Regions from separate parts of the Homo sapiens genome. Here region 2 is linked to region 1. Evidence: promoter capture Hi-C in human tissues and cell types (Jung and others, 2019). All regions are on one chromosome and are shown on one strand. The core of a region is centred on a gene start or on the middle of the fragment in contact, and the rest is flanking DNA. Distances in the headings are between cores, read along the strand shown. Region 1 holds the start of NLRX1 (NLR family member X1). Region 2 holds the start of SLC37A4 (solute carrier family 37 member 4).

Region 1 (6,232 bases), core at 2,716-5,215:
GGCAACACAGTGAGGCCCCATCACTACAGCTCTCTATAAAAACAAACAAACAAACAAACAAACAAACAATTAGCTGGGCATGGTGGCAATGCTTGTAGTCCTAGTTACTTGGGAGGCTGAGGTGAGAGGATCACTTGAGCCCAGGAGTTTGAGATTACAGTGAGCTATGATTGTGCCACTGCACCCCAGCCTGGGTGATAGAGTGACACCCTGTTAAAAAAAAAATCCAGTAAATACTTTTTTTTTTTTTTTGAGATGGAGTCTCTCTCTGTCGCCCAGGCTGGAGTGCAGTGGTACCATCTCGGCTCGCTGCAAGCAAGCTCTGCCTCCTGGGTTCACGACATTCTCCTGCCTCAGCCTCCCAAGTAGCTGGGACTAGAGGTGCCTGCCACTACGCCTGGCTAATTTTTTTGTATTTTTAGTAGAGACGGGGTTTCACCGTGTTAGCCAGGATGGTCTCAATCTCCGGACCTCGTGATCCACCCGTCTCGGCCTCCCAAAGTGCTGGGATTACAGACATGAGCCACCACTCCCGGCGAGATACTGTACTCTTGCCACTGTGCCCTACCCCATGTTCCTCCCACCAGTCCCAGTAACCTGCTGAGTTGGAGCATAAATGCTCCCTGCCCATCTAAGTATGTTTTGAAGTGGGCCCTCTCTCCCTAAGTGCCAAAGTACCTAAGTACCTGGGCTTACAGATCATCTTTTTTTTTTTCTTTTTTGAGACGGAGTCTCACTCTGTAGCCCAAGCTGGAGTGCAGTGGCGTGATCTCGGCTCACTGCAACCTTCGCCTCTGGGGCTCAAGCAATTCTCCTGCCTCAGCCTCCCAAGTAGCTGGGACTAGAGGCGTGCGCCACCACACCTGGTTAATTTTTTTTGTATTTTTAGTAGAGGCGGGGTTTCACCATGTAGCCCTGATGATCTCGAACTCCTGAGCTCAGGCAATCCACCCACACTGGCCTCCCAAAGTGCTGGGATTACAGGCGTGAGCCACCACGCCCATCTGATATCATCTTCTTTAACACAGTCACCTTCTCTGTGTCCAGACCTATGCAAAGTGCTGAAGACCAGAGTTGACTAAGACAGTTGTCCATGCAATAATTCTTTTTTTTTGAGACAGGGTCTCGCTCTGTCACCCATGCTAGAGTACAGGGTGCAACCATGGCTTACTGCAGCCTCAACTTCCTGGGCTCAAGCGATCCTCCCATCTCAGACTCTAGAGTAGCTGGGACCGCAGGTGCGTGCCACCATGCCTAGCTAATTTTTTAAAAATTATTTTTGTGGAGTCAGGGTTCTATTATGTTGCCCAAGCTGGTCTCAAACTCCTGGGCTCGAGTGATCCTTCTGCCTTAGCCTCCCAAAGTGCTGGGATTACAGGTGTGAGCAACCACACCCCGGCCTCATGCTATAACTTTTTTTTTTTTTTTTAGACAGAGTCTCACTCTGTAGCCAAGGCTGGAGTGTGTAGTGGCATGATCGCGGCTCACTGCAACCTCTGCCTCCTGGGTTCAAGCGATTCTCCTGCCTCAGCCTCCTGAGTAGCTGGGACTACAGGTGCCTGCCACCAAGCCTGGCTAATTTTTTTGTATTTCTAGTAGAGACGGGGTTTCACCACGTTGGTCAGGCTGGTCTCGAACTACTGACCTCAGGTGATCCACCCACCTCGGCCTCCCAAAGTGCTGGGATTATAGGGTGAGCCACTGCACCGCATCCTAGGTCAGACAACAGAGGACATGCCCACGGCATGACTCACAGTACTTCTGTCTGCAAGAGGCCAGTCAAAGTATATGTTATTAATAAAACCTACATGGTTGTCGTACCCATGGGGAAGGTGACAGGGGAGGAAAACAGATTGCTCTGAGCTGTGTCCAGGAACTGCTGCCAGGTGACTGTCTTGCATGGCTAGGTAAGTGGAATGAAGCTAGAGGAGATTACCAGGCCCAAACTGTCACCCATGAGACTACATTCATGGGGTTCCTATACTTCCCCTCCCACATCCTATTCTACTCCCCTTGAAGAACCTCTTTTAAAATGCAAATGTGTTGTTCACCCTGCTGCTGGGATGCCCTGCCTTTCCTTTCTCTGATTTATTTATTTATTGAGACAGGGTCTCTCTCTGTTGCCCAGGTTGGAGTGCAGTGGTGCAATCTTGGCTCACTGCAACCTCCGCCTCCCAGGTTCAAGCAATTCTCCTGCTTCAGTCTCCTGAGTAGCTGTGATTATGGGCATGTGCCACCATGCCCAGCTAATTTTTTGTGCTTTTGTTTTTATTTTTGAGACACGGTTTTGCTTTATCTCCCAGGCTAGAGTGCAGTGGCATGATCTCGGCTCACTGCAACCTCTACCTCCCAAGTTCAAGCAATTCTTGTGCCTCAGCCTTCTGAGTAGCTGGTACTACAGGCCCATGCCACCACGTCTGGTTGATTTTTTTTTTTTTTTTGATACAGAGTCTTGCTCTGTCTCCCAGGCTGGAATGCAGTGGCGTGATCTTGGCTCACGGCAACCTCCGCCTCCTGGATTCAAGCGATTCTCCTGCCTAAGCCTCCTGTGTAGCTGGGACTGCAGGCATGCACCACCCAGCCCGGCTAATTTTTGTATTTTTAGTAGAGATGAGGTTTCACCACGTTGCCTAGGTTGGTCGTGAACTTCTGAGCTCAGGCAATCCGCCTGCCTTGGCCTCCCAAAGTGCTAGGATTACAGGCATGAGCCACCATGCCTGGCCAATTTTTGTTATTTTTAGTAGAGACGGGGGTTTCACCATGTTGGCCATGGTGACGAGTTTGAGCTGGTCCCAAACTCCTGGCCTCAGGAGATCTGCCCTCACCCCCAGCCTTCCAAAGTGCTGAGATTACAGGTGTGAGCCACCGCGGCTGGTCCTCTGATTTATTTTTTCAGATCCAGTACAAATGTTACCTCCTCTGCACTCCCTTTTCCAGACTCTCCTAATGCCTTGCCTCTGCCACTGAAGTACATCATTTGTTTGTCTGTTTTTTATATTTTTATTTTCTATTTTCATTTTAAATAGAGACAGGGTCTCACTATGTCACCCAGGCTGGTCTCAAACTCCTGGTCTCAAGTGATCCTCCTGCCTCGGCCTTGAAGTACATCATTTGTAAATGTGGTAGTTGATTCCATTAAAGTGAGGTGCCTGCCTTGCTGTGGTTGGCAGCCCAGGGCCTAGTGCTGGACCTGGCTTGTGGGGGTGAGGTGCTCAGTGCTACCCAATACCACAGTACAACGAATGAACAAATGTCTAAATGAAACATCCACATTGTTTTCAGTAAGTCCTCTTCCCAGCCCTGCCCTGGAGAGCCTCTCTGTGGGTGCCCTAGTGCACAGCTCTGTTGTGTGAACATCGTACACTCATGCTTGCATACGAAGGCGTGCCCTGGCTGTGGGTGGTGGGTGGCTCCTCCTTCTGGGCTACGTGAGCCCAGGGTGTGGAAGTGTGTGGAAGTGTAGGGATAAGGGTGGGGGCTTTGGGAACTGGGAAGCCCCAGGGCTAGGCCATGAATGGGTGTCAGACCCGAAGAGCAGGTTGGGGTGCAAGTTGTCCTTCAGCCCCCATTCTTCCTTCTTTCTTAACCAAGGTTACCAGCAGCCACACACATAGGTCTGGGCTCTGAAGAGGACCGGATACATAAGGCAGAACCCAAGGAAGCCTTAGGCTCAGGTCTCTGCCTGAAGGTAGGCTGGGGAGGCGGAGAGGGACAGAGGGAAGAATCCCCTGGACACCGCGCCTCAGGGAGGCCCAGGGGTAAGGTAGGAAGACTCAGGCCCGGGATGTTGTTCTGGCTCATCCACTTCCTAACTGAATCAACCTGCACAAGTCATTTCACCCTTCTGAGCATCAGTTTCTTCATCTGTAAAATGGGCCTAACAAGCAGCCCAGCCTGGGAGGTGGTTAGTGAGGTCACTGGGTGTCACTGGCGCTTGGGAACCTGCAGAGGGCAGTACTAGCGGCAGTGCCCGCGGGGATGGAGGCAGGGAGGGGGGACGATGGCGGGACGGGTGGCGCCGGGGTTCCAGCCCTGCGCCTGCTCCGGAGCACCGGGCCCCTCTCGCTGACCCCCTCGTCCCAGGACCCCGCAGGCCCGAGTGCCTGGGCTCGTCCTCTTTCGCGCCCGCTGCCAGGTGCCAGGGCCGCGCAGGCGGGCGGAGGTGGGCAGGAAGCGCCACGCCGAGGAGCCGGGGACTCTGGGAGCTAGCGGGAGACGCCGGCGTCCGCCCAGCCGACCCCTCTGGGCCGCGGCCGACGGCTCCCGGAACTGGGCAGCCGCGGGTAAAGGCCTAGCGGGCTTGATAACCCCTGCGCCCTGGCTGGGAGGCCGCGCTGAGCGGGGGGCAGGGCGGGCCGGGGGAGGAGGCTGTGCAAGGGCCGCGGGGAGATCCCGGCCGAGAACGAGAGGGACGGAGCTGGGCGCTGAATGGCGGGCGTTCTGGCAAGTCTCCCCCTGCGTTCCCGAGGCCACCCGAAAGTAGGAGAGCTGTTTGGGACCCAGTTTGGTGGAGGAGCTCTGGACCTGTAGGAACACCGCCCCTGTACGTTTCCTGCAGTGCCCCCTCCTTTTCTCATTGCCCTGGAGACCTGGGTGATCACCGGAGAACTGCCCTCGGCCCCGCAAGTCCCGTCTTGACTCAGTGGCCCTAGATCCGAGGTTAAACCGGAACCTAGGCTTTCTCAGGCTTCTGGAGCCCTCTCTTAACCCTTCCGCAGCCCCTGGGACGGGCCAGCACCCAGCCAGCTCCTCCGCTGGTTGGCCCTGCTAAGGCAGGTGGCCCAATGCAGCCAGTTCTCCTTAAGCGTACCCTGCCCAAGAAGCCCCGATCTCAGTGGAGGAGACCAGGTGCCAAATAGGGGCACATTCCATTTAAGTGAGTTCAGAGGCCTCAGAAAAGACTTCCCAGGGACGGAGACTTTTGAGCAGGATCTTAAAAGATTGGTTGGGGCCCGAGTGGTGGCTCGCGCCTGCAGTCCCCGCACTTTGGGAGGGCAAGGCGGGCGGATCACTTGAGCCCAGGAGTTCGAGACCACCCTGGGCAACAATGGTGAAAACCCCGTCTCTACAAAAACCAAAGCCAAAAATTAGCCAGGTGTGGTGGCACACCACTTTAGTCCTAGCTACTCAGGAGGCTGAAGCAGGAGGATGGCTTGAGCCCAGGAGGTAGAGGTTGCTGTGAGCTGAGATCGTACTACTGCACTCCAGCCTGGGCAACAGAGCGAGAGACCCTGTCTCAGGAAAAAAAAAAAAAAAAAAAAAAAAAAAAAAAAAATTGGTTGGGACTCTAACAGAGGAAAAAGGTCATTCCAAACTGGGAAGAGTGTATGAACAAATTTAGGACAGCAAGAGCAAGAATCCGGTGAGCCTGGGGTATAAGGCACAGGCTGGGACAAACTCAGAAAAATAGCTTGTGGGAGCCCAGTGTTTGGACTCTATAAGTAACCTTGGACTTTTCGGGAGGTGCTTGGTGCTTGGGGTGAGGGATTAGAATGGGATGAGACTGAAGGCAGAAAGGCTGGTGAGGAGATCGGGTCCAATAAATGCTGGTCGGGGCAGCAACTGGCTGGCAAAGCAGTGGGGAGGAATTGCTAGGACTCTTCACACTGCCTAAAGGAGCAAGGGAAGAAAGATTTGAAGAGAGAGGTCAGGTTTCTAATGTAAGGCGTGGGTGGGAAGATTTGCAGCAAGGTAAATGACAAGAGGAGGGGAATGATGAGTTCAGTTTTACATGGGAGAAGTTTGAAGCAGTGGCAGGTTGTCCATCTGGAGATGTCAAGTGAGAAGTTCATTCATTTATTTATTATTTATGTCAGCCTCAAAGGCTGCTTACATAAAAGTCACAGAGAACATAAAATGATGAAGCCATTAAAACTCAGCTAAAAGGATCTGATATCTGCGGAAGAAAGGCAGAGTGGGGTGGATAATTATTACTGGAAAATCTAGGCACAGAAAAGCCACTGAAAATGAACACAGGACTCCTATCTGAGCTTGCTGGTGGCCAAGAAGGAAAAAGGACACCTAAATAAAGCAGTTTACCAGGGTGGAACTCAGGGAAAGGTGTTCGTGAAGCTTCAGGGGAGAGGCAAGACGTGGCAGGAAGGCCAGGTGTGATGGCTCACACTTGTAATCCCAGCACTTTGCAAGGCCAAGGCAGGCAGATTACCTGAGGTCAGAAGTTCAAGACCAGCTTAACCAACATGGTAAACCCCGTCTCTACTAAAAATACAAA
Region 2 (6,232 bases), core at 1-2,500, 140 kb before region 1:
CGGAAGGAGGCATGCCTGTGAGCCAGGCCAGCACCCTGTGTCCCCAGGATTTCTGCCTTTACCTCCTCTATCATGTCTGCTTGCCTGTGAAACCAGCTTTGATTAAAGGTTCAACCTAATTACTTTTGTCTGCCTGAGCCCAGGGGAGGCAGGGGTGGGATGAGCAGAGATGCCCTCTCTAGCCCTGCTCCCTCAGTCACAGAACCTTCTCATTCATTCACGGAAGGTTTATTAACTTACTAGTTGACAGGCACTGCACTTGGCACTATTAGTTTCTACACCCACTCACCACCACCGCACCAAAACACAAAGTCAGACACATACCCCGGCTACCCCACTTCTAAGCCTTCTAGAGAGGGCCTCAATCCGTGGAACTCTCAATACTTAGCACATAATAGATTTAATTGTTTCCTACAGTTGCCCCTTGTAATTCTGTGCAAGGGGGACCTCCCCAGTTCAGGTCCCACGGTGTCACACAGAAAGCCCCGCTAAGGGCTGAGGTCCTGATGGGGCCCCACAGAGCTACCTCTGGGTCCCCATTACCCTGCGACGTCAGTCTGGGCTTCCTTCGGGCTAGCTGGGGGCTGCAGGGTCTGGTTTCCAACCTGTGGGACGTTGGCAGGGGCCGCAAGCAGAGGGACTGGGCAGCTCGTGGGCGGGAAGGTGCCCCGGCGGGCTTCGGGCTGCAGGGCACAACCGTCCCGCCCAGGGCCCCGGCAACATGCCCCGGCTTTTCCGCTCAATTGGGAAAGCAACTGGAGCAGAAGGCGTAGGCGCACGCGGAGCGGGCGACCGCACGTATTCTCCCGGAGGCCCCGCGCTTCTGGCACCCAGAGGCTCAGCCTGGTAGGGGAGGGCCAGGCGGCGGGCGGGAGAGGAGGAGAGGCGGCGGGCGGCGAAGAGGCGGCGGGCTCGTGGCACCTGCCCAGCCCCGTGGGTCCTCACGCTACCCAGGACACGCTACTGTGCGGCTGGGAACCACGGGGGCCGGGGGTGCAGGAGCTGGAGAGGTGCGGAGACCACAGGACTGGCGCGATAGAAAGGGGTCTCGTGCTGGTGGTCAGGGACAGCGCCTCGGTGGCCCCAAGACCCATGAATTGTCTCTGGAACTGCAGGAACAGCTCCGGGTCGTATCGGAAGTTGGGGTTCGCCAACAATGGCTCCCCAAGACCTGAGATCCCCGCCCTCAGGTGACTCCCCTCCCCCGCATACCGCCTCCTACCTGAACAGAGGCGGGAGCCCGAATAGGACGGGGCGGGGCTAGCGAAGGCTGCGCAAGCGCGGCCGGCGGGGGCGTGGTCTTCGCCTGCTGCTTCGCTTGCCGGCCAGTGGAGTTCCCCGCCCCACATGCCGGGGACGTCGACTTACTCCCTCCCGCTGGTCACGCTGCTCCTTGGACGAACGAGCATAGCGCCCCTTAGGGGCTGGGCACGGCATGTCCAATTCTTAAGTGGTTGCATTCAACAAACCAGTTTTTAGTGAGTGCCCTCCTCTACAAAACACACCGAACACTAAGGTGATAATCATTGTTCCCAAGTTGCTCACAGTCTGGGAAAGGTGTTGTAGGAACACACAGTATTTTCTTTTTTTCTTTTTTTTTTTTTTTGAAACAGTCTCGCTCAGTCGCCCAGGCTGGAGTGCAGTGGCGCGATTTCGGCTCACTGCAAGCTCCTCCTCCCGGGTTCACACCATTCTCCTGCCTCAGCCTCCCGAGTAGCTGGGACTACGGGCGCCCACCACCACGCCCGGGTAATTTTTTGTATTTTTAGTAGAGACGGGGTTTCACCGTGTTTGCCAGGATGGTCTCGATCTCCTGACCTCGTGATCCGCTCACCTCGGCCTCCCAAAGTGCTGGGATTACAGGCGTGAGCCACCGCGCCCAGCCCACAATTTGGAATTTTAACTTGTGGTTAGATTGTTGGGGACAGAGACGGGGCCTGGAGTAAATATCAAATTCTAGTCCTAGACCCACAGCATTCTAACTGTATGACCTTGGTTAATCTCTATGAGCTCCCGTTTCCTACCAGCCTGGTAGATCATTGTGAAGACTCAACAGATGATTTAGATAAGAGCTCAGAAATTCTATAAGAGTTCTCAACAACAATGGTTTTCACTGATCCCAGTTAAGAGTTGTGAGGAGTAACAGTAGTGATGCTATTTTACAACAATGATGACTGTGTTCTCAGAAACAGAGCAAATGTTAACCCTGCCCATAGCTTCAACAGAAGGTAACATAGCCTAACAAAGTCCCCAACAGTCCCAATCAGCCAGCACTTCCCGACCTCTCCCCAATAGAAACGATATTATAAAAGCCTCAGCTTGTAAGCGATCAGGGTCTCAGCCAGACTCCTGACTGGAACTCCTTGCAGGCTTATTCCTGTGAATAAACCTGTTTGGCCGTTGAGTTGCCTCCTGTCTCTCGCTCTCTTCCCTTATATCTTCCTAACAAGAGTGGCTGAAGGAATTGTAAGTGTTCCAAAATTGAGAGCAAAGATCTTTTACTCCAGAGAAGATGGTCAGGGAAGGGAGGAGGAGGAGATGAGATAAAATAGGATGACAGGCCGGACGCGATGGCTCATGCTTGTAATCCCAGCACATTGGGAGGCCAAGGCGGGCAGATCACTTGAAGTCAGGAGTTCGAGACCAGCCTGGCCAACATGGTGAAACCCTGTCTCTACTAAAAATACCAAAATTAGCCAGGCTTGGTGGCACACGCCTGTAATCCCAGTTACTGGGGAGGCTGAGGCAGGAGAATTTCTTGGACCTGGGAAGCAGAGGTTGCAGTGAGCCGAGATCGTGCCACTGCACTCCAGCCTGGGTGACAGAGCGAGAGCCTGTCTCAAAAAAAAAAAAAAAAAAATAGGATGACGATGTCACTGAACTTCGTTAATTCAAAATCGGGGAGGAGCCTAGTTTGTACCAGGCACTGTGCTTTCAGCCAGGTAGATCCAAGGACCAGGAAACAGTTCCTCCGAAACCAAACCAGAGCAGATTCTTACTTTACCTAATAGAGGAGTAGGAAGCCATCAGGTTTTTCTCCGCTTTTATTTTTAAGATTTAACATACACATAATAAAATACAAAAAGTGCAGGAATCTTACATGTACAACTCAGTGATTTTTTACACATGTTAATACCCGTGTAACCACCACCTAAATTAACAGCCCTATCGTTTTGTTTTGGAAGTGGAGTGATCTCAGCTCACTGCAACCTCCTTCTCTGGGGTTCAAGCGATTCTCCTGCCTCAGCCTCCCGAGTAGCTGGGATTACAGGCATGCCCCACCATGCCCAGCTAATTTTGTAATTTTAGTAGGGGTAGGGTTTCTCCATGTTGGTCAGGCTGGTCTCAAACTCCTGACTTCAGGTGATCTGCCCCCCTTGGCCTCCCAAAGTGCTGGGATTACAGGCATGAACAACTGCACCCAGCCAACCCGGTTAATTTTTCTATTTTTTGTAGAGACAAGAGTTTCACCATATTGGCCAGGCTGGCCTCGAAATCCTGAGCTCAAGGGATCCACCTGCCTTGGTCTTCCAATATCCTGGAATTACAGGCATGAGCCACTGTGCCTGGTCGATGGTGTTTATTTGTTTGTTTGTTTGTTTTTGAGACAGAGTCTTGCTCTGTCGGCCAGGCTGAAGTGCAGTGGCAGGATCTCGGCTCACTGCAACCTCTGCCTCCTGGGCTCAAGCCATTCTCCTGCCTGAGCCTCCTGAGTAGCTGGGATTACAAGCATGTGCCACCACGCCCAGCTAATTTTTGTATTTTTAGTAGAGACAGGGTTTCACCCTATTGGCCAGGCTGGTCTCGAACTCCTGACCTCAGGTAATCCGCCCACCTCGGTCTCCCAAAGTGCTAGGATTACAGGCGTGAGCCACTGCGCCCGGTCTGTTTTTTTTGTTTGTTTGTTTGTTTGTTTGTTTGTTTTTGAGACAGGCTTGCTCTGTTGCCCAGGCTGGAGTGCAATGGTATCTTAGCTCACTCTAACCTCAAATTCCTGAGCATTGAGCGATCCTCCCAAGTAGCTAAGACTACAGGACCAGGCCACCTGGGTTCAAGCGATTCTTCTGCCTCAGCTTCCTGAGTAGTTGGTATTATAGGTGCCCGCAAACACGCCTGGCTAATTTTTGTATTTTTAGTACAGACAGGGTTTCTTTCTTTCTTTTTTTCTTTTTCTTTCTTTTTTTTTTTTTTTTTTTTGAGACAGAGTCTCGCTCTCTCGCCCAGGCTGGAGTGCAGTGGCACCATCTGGGCTCACTGCAAGCTCCGCCTCCCAGGTTCATGCCATTCTCCTGCCTCAGCCTCCCGAGTAGCTGGGACTACAGACACCCGCCACCACGGTCAGCTAATTTTTTGTATTTTTAGTAGAGACGGGGTTTCACTGTGTTAGCCAGGATGGTCTCGATCCTGACCTCGTGATCCACCCGCCTCGGCCTCCCAAAGTGCTAGATTACAAGCGTGAGCCACCGCACCCGGCGTACAGAGGGGGTTTCGCCATGTTGGCCAGGCTAGTCTCAAACTCCTGAGTTTAGGTTATCCACCTGCCTCAGGCTCCCAAAGTGCGGCGATTACAAGCATGATCCATCGCACCCAGTCAGTGGGAATTAAATGGAAAAACATTTTAAAGCACTTTATGATCAGGATAGTAGGGACTCAAATGCTAGTTTGCTCACTGTATTTCCAAAGAATGTTAAGAAATGAGAAGATAGGCCGGGCATGGTGGCTTACTCCCGTAATCCCAGCACTTTGCGAGGCTGAGGCGCGCGGATCATGAGGTCAGGAGTTCGAGACCAGCCTGACCAACATGGTGAAACCCTGTCTCTACTAAAAATACAAAAATTAGCCGGGTGTGGTGGTGTACACCTGTAATCCCAGCTAATCAGGAGGCTGAGGCAGGAGAATCACTTGAACCTGGGAGGCAGAAGTTGCAGTGAGCTGAGATGGCGCCATTGCACTCCAGCCTAGGTGACAGAGTGAGACTCCGTCTCAAAAAAAAAAAAAAAGAAAGAAAGAAAGAAAAGAAAAAGAAATGAGAAGATGACATCCCAATACAGTACAAAGACTTTACTAAGGGATAATAAAAGGTAATTTGAACAAACGTAAATCATACTACATGCCTGAAAAACAAGCTATGACTTTGATACTGTCCAAATGTCAATCCATTCAAAATTCATTTGGCATTTTAAAACCATCCCAATCTATATCCCAACAGAATTTGTTGGAAACTGGACAAAGTTTTTATTTTTTTTTCAGAAGCCATAGAAATGAATGGACAACATTATTTTAAATATCATCCGAGGTTGGGCCCAGTGGCTCATGCTTACAATCCCAACACTTTGGAAGGATGGCTTGAGGTCAGGAGTTTGAGACCAGCCTGGGCAACGTAGTGAGACCCCATTGCTACAAAAAATTTAGAAATTAGCCAGGTGTGGTGGCATGTGCCTCTAGTCCTATCTACTCAGGGGCTTAGACGGGAAGAGACCTTGAGCCTAGGAGTTCAAGGCCTCAGTGAGCTATGATTGTAGCACTGCACTCCAGCCTAGGCTACAAGAAAGACCTTGTTTCAAAAAAATTTTTTATCTCATGTATGATTTTAACTATGATAAAAGGGACATCCTGCACAGGTGCAGTGGCTTATGCTGTAATTCAACCACTTTGGAAGGCTGAGGTGAGAGGGTTGATTGAGTCCAGGAGTTCAAGACCAGCCTGGGCAACATAGGGAGAACCCCCCGCCATCTCTACAAAAATATAAAAAATTAGCCAGGGTCGGGTGCAGTGGCTCATGCCTGTAATGCCAGCACTTTGGAAGGCTGAGGCAGGCAGATCACCTGAGGTCAGGAGTTCGAGACCAGCCTGGCCAACATGATGAAACCCAGTCTCTACTAAAAATACCAAAATTAGCTGGGCGTGGTGGCATGTGCCTTTAATCCCAGATACTCCTGAGGCTGAGGCAGGAGAATCGAATGAACCCGGGAGGCGGAGGTTGCAGTGAGCCAAGATCGCGCCACTGCACTCCAGCCTGGGCCACAGAGCGAGACTCCATCTCAAAATAATAAATAAATAAATAAAAGTAAAAATTAGCCAGGTGTGGTGGCATGTACCTGTGGTCCCAGCTAATTGGGAGACTGAGGTGGCAGGATTGCTTGAGGCAGGAAGGTCAAGGCTGCAGTAAGCTATGATCGCACTACTGTACTCTAGCCTGGGTGAAAGCAAGACCGTGTTTCAAAAGAAAAAT

What was found. The method cuts DNA at HindIII sites, captures the fragments that hold promoters and counts their contacts. A contact is called where the count stands out against the background at its distance.
Region 2: the fragment with the promoter of SLC37A4 here is called in contact with the fragment with the promoter of NLRX1 in region 1 in 1 of the 25 tissues and cell types used here (psoas muscle).

What each region holds. Positions count from the first base shown.
Region 1 is chr11:119,164,760-119,170,991 of GRCh38, forward strand. It overlaps NLRX1 (NLR family member X1), which reads left to right and starts at 3,966. Exons shown (of 10, transcript NM_001282144.2): 1 at 3,966-4,543. RefSeq lists a silencer at 3,875-4,484 and enhancers at 4,056-4,761, 4,762-5,466. The HindIII fragment of the contact is 23,273 bases long and covers 1-6,232 here.
Region 2 is chr11:119,029,627-119,035,858 of GRCh38, forward strand. SLC37A4 (solute carrier family 37 member 4) reads right to left here and starts at 1,251. Exons shown (of 10, transcript NM_001467.6): 1 at 1,223-1,251. RefSeq lists a silencer at 706-865. The HindIII fragment of the contact is 21,386 bases long and covers 1-6,232 here.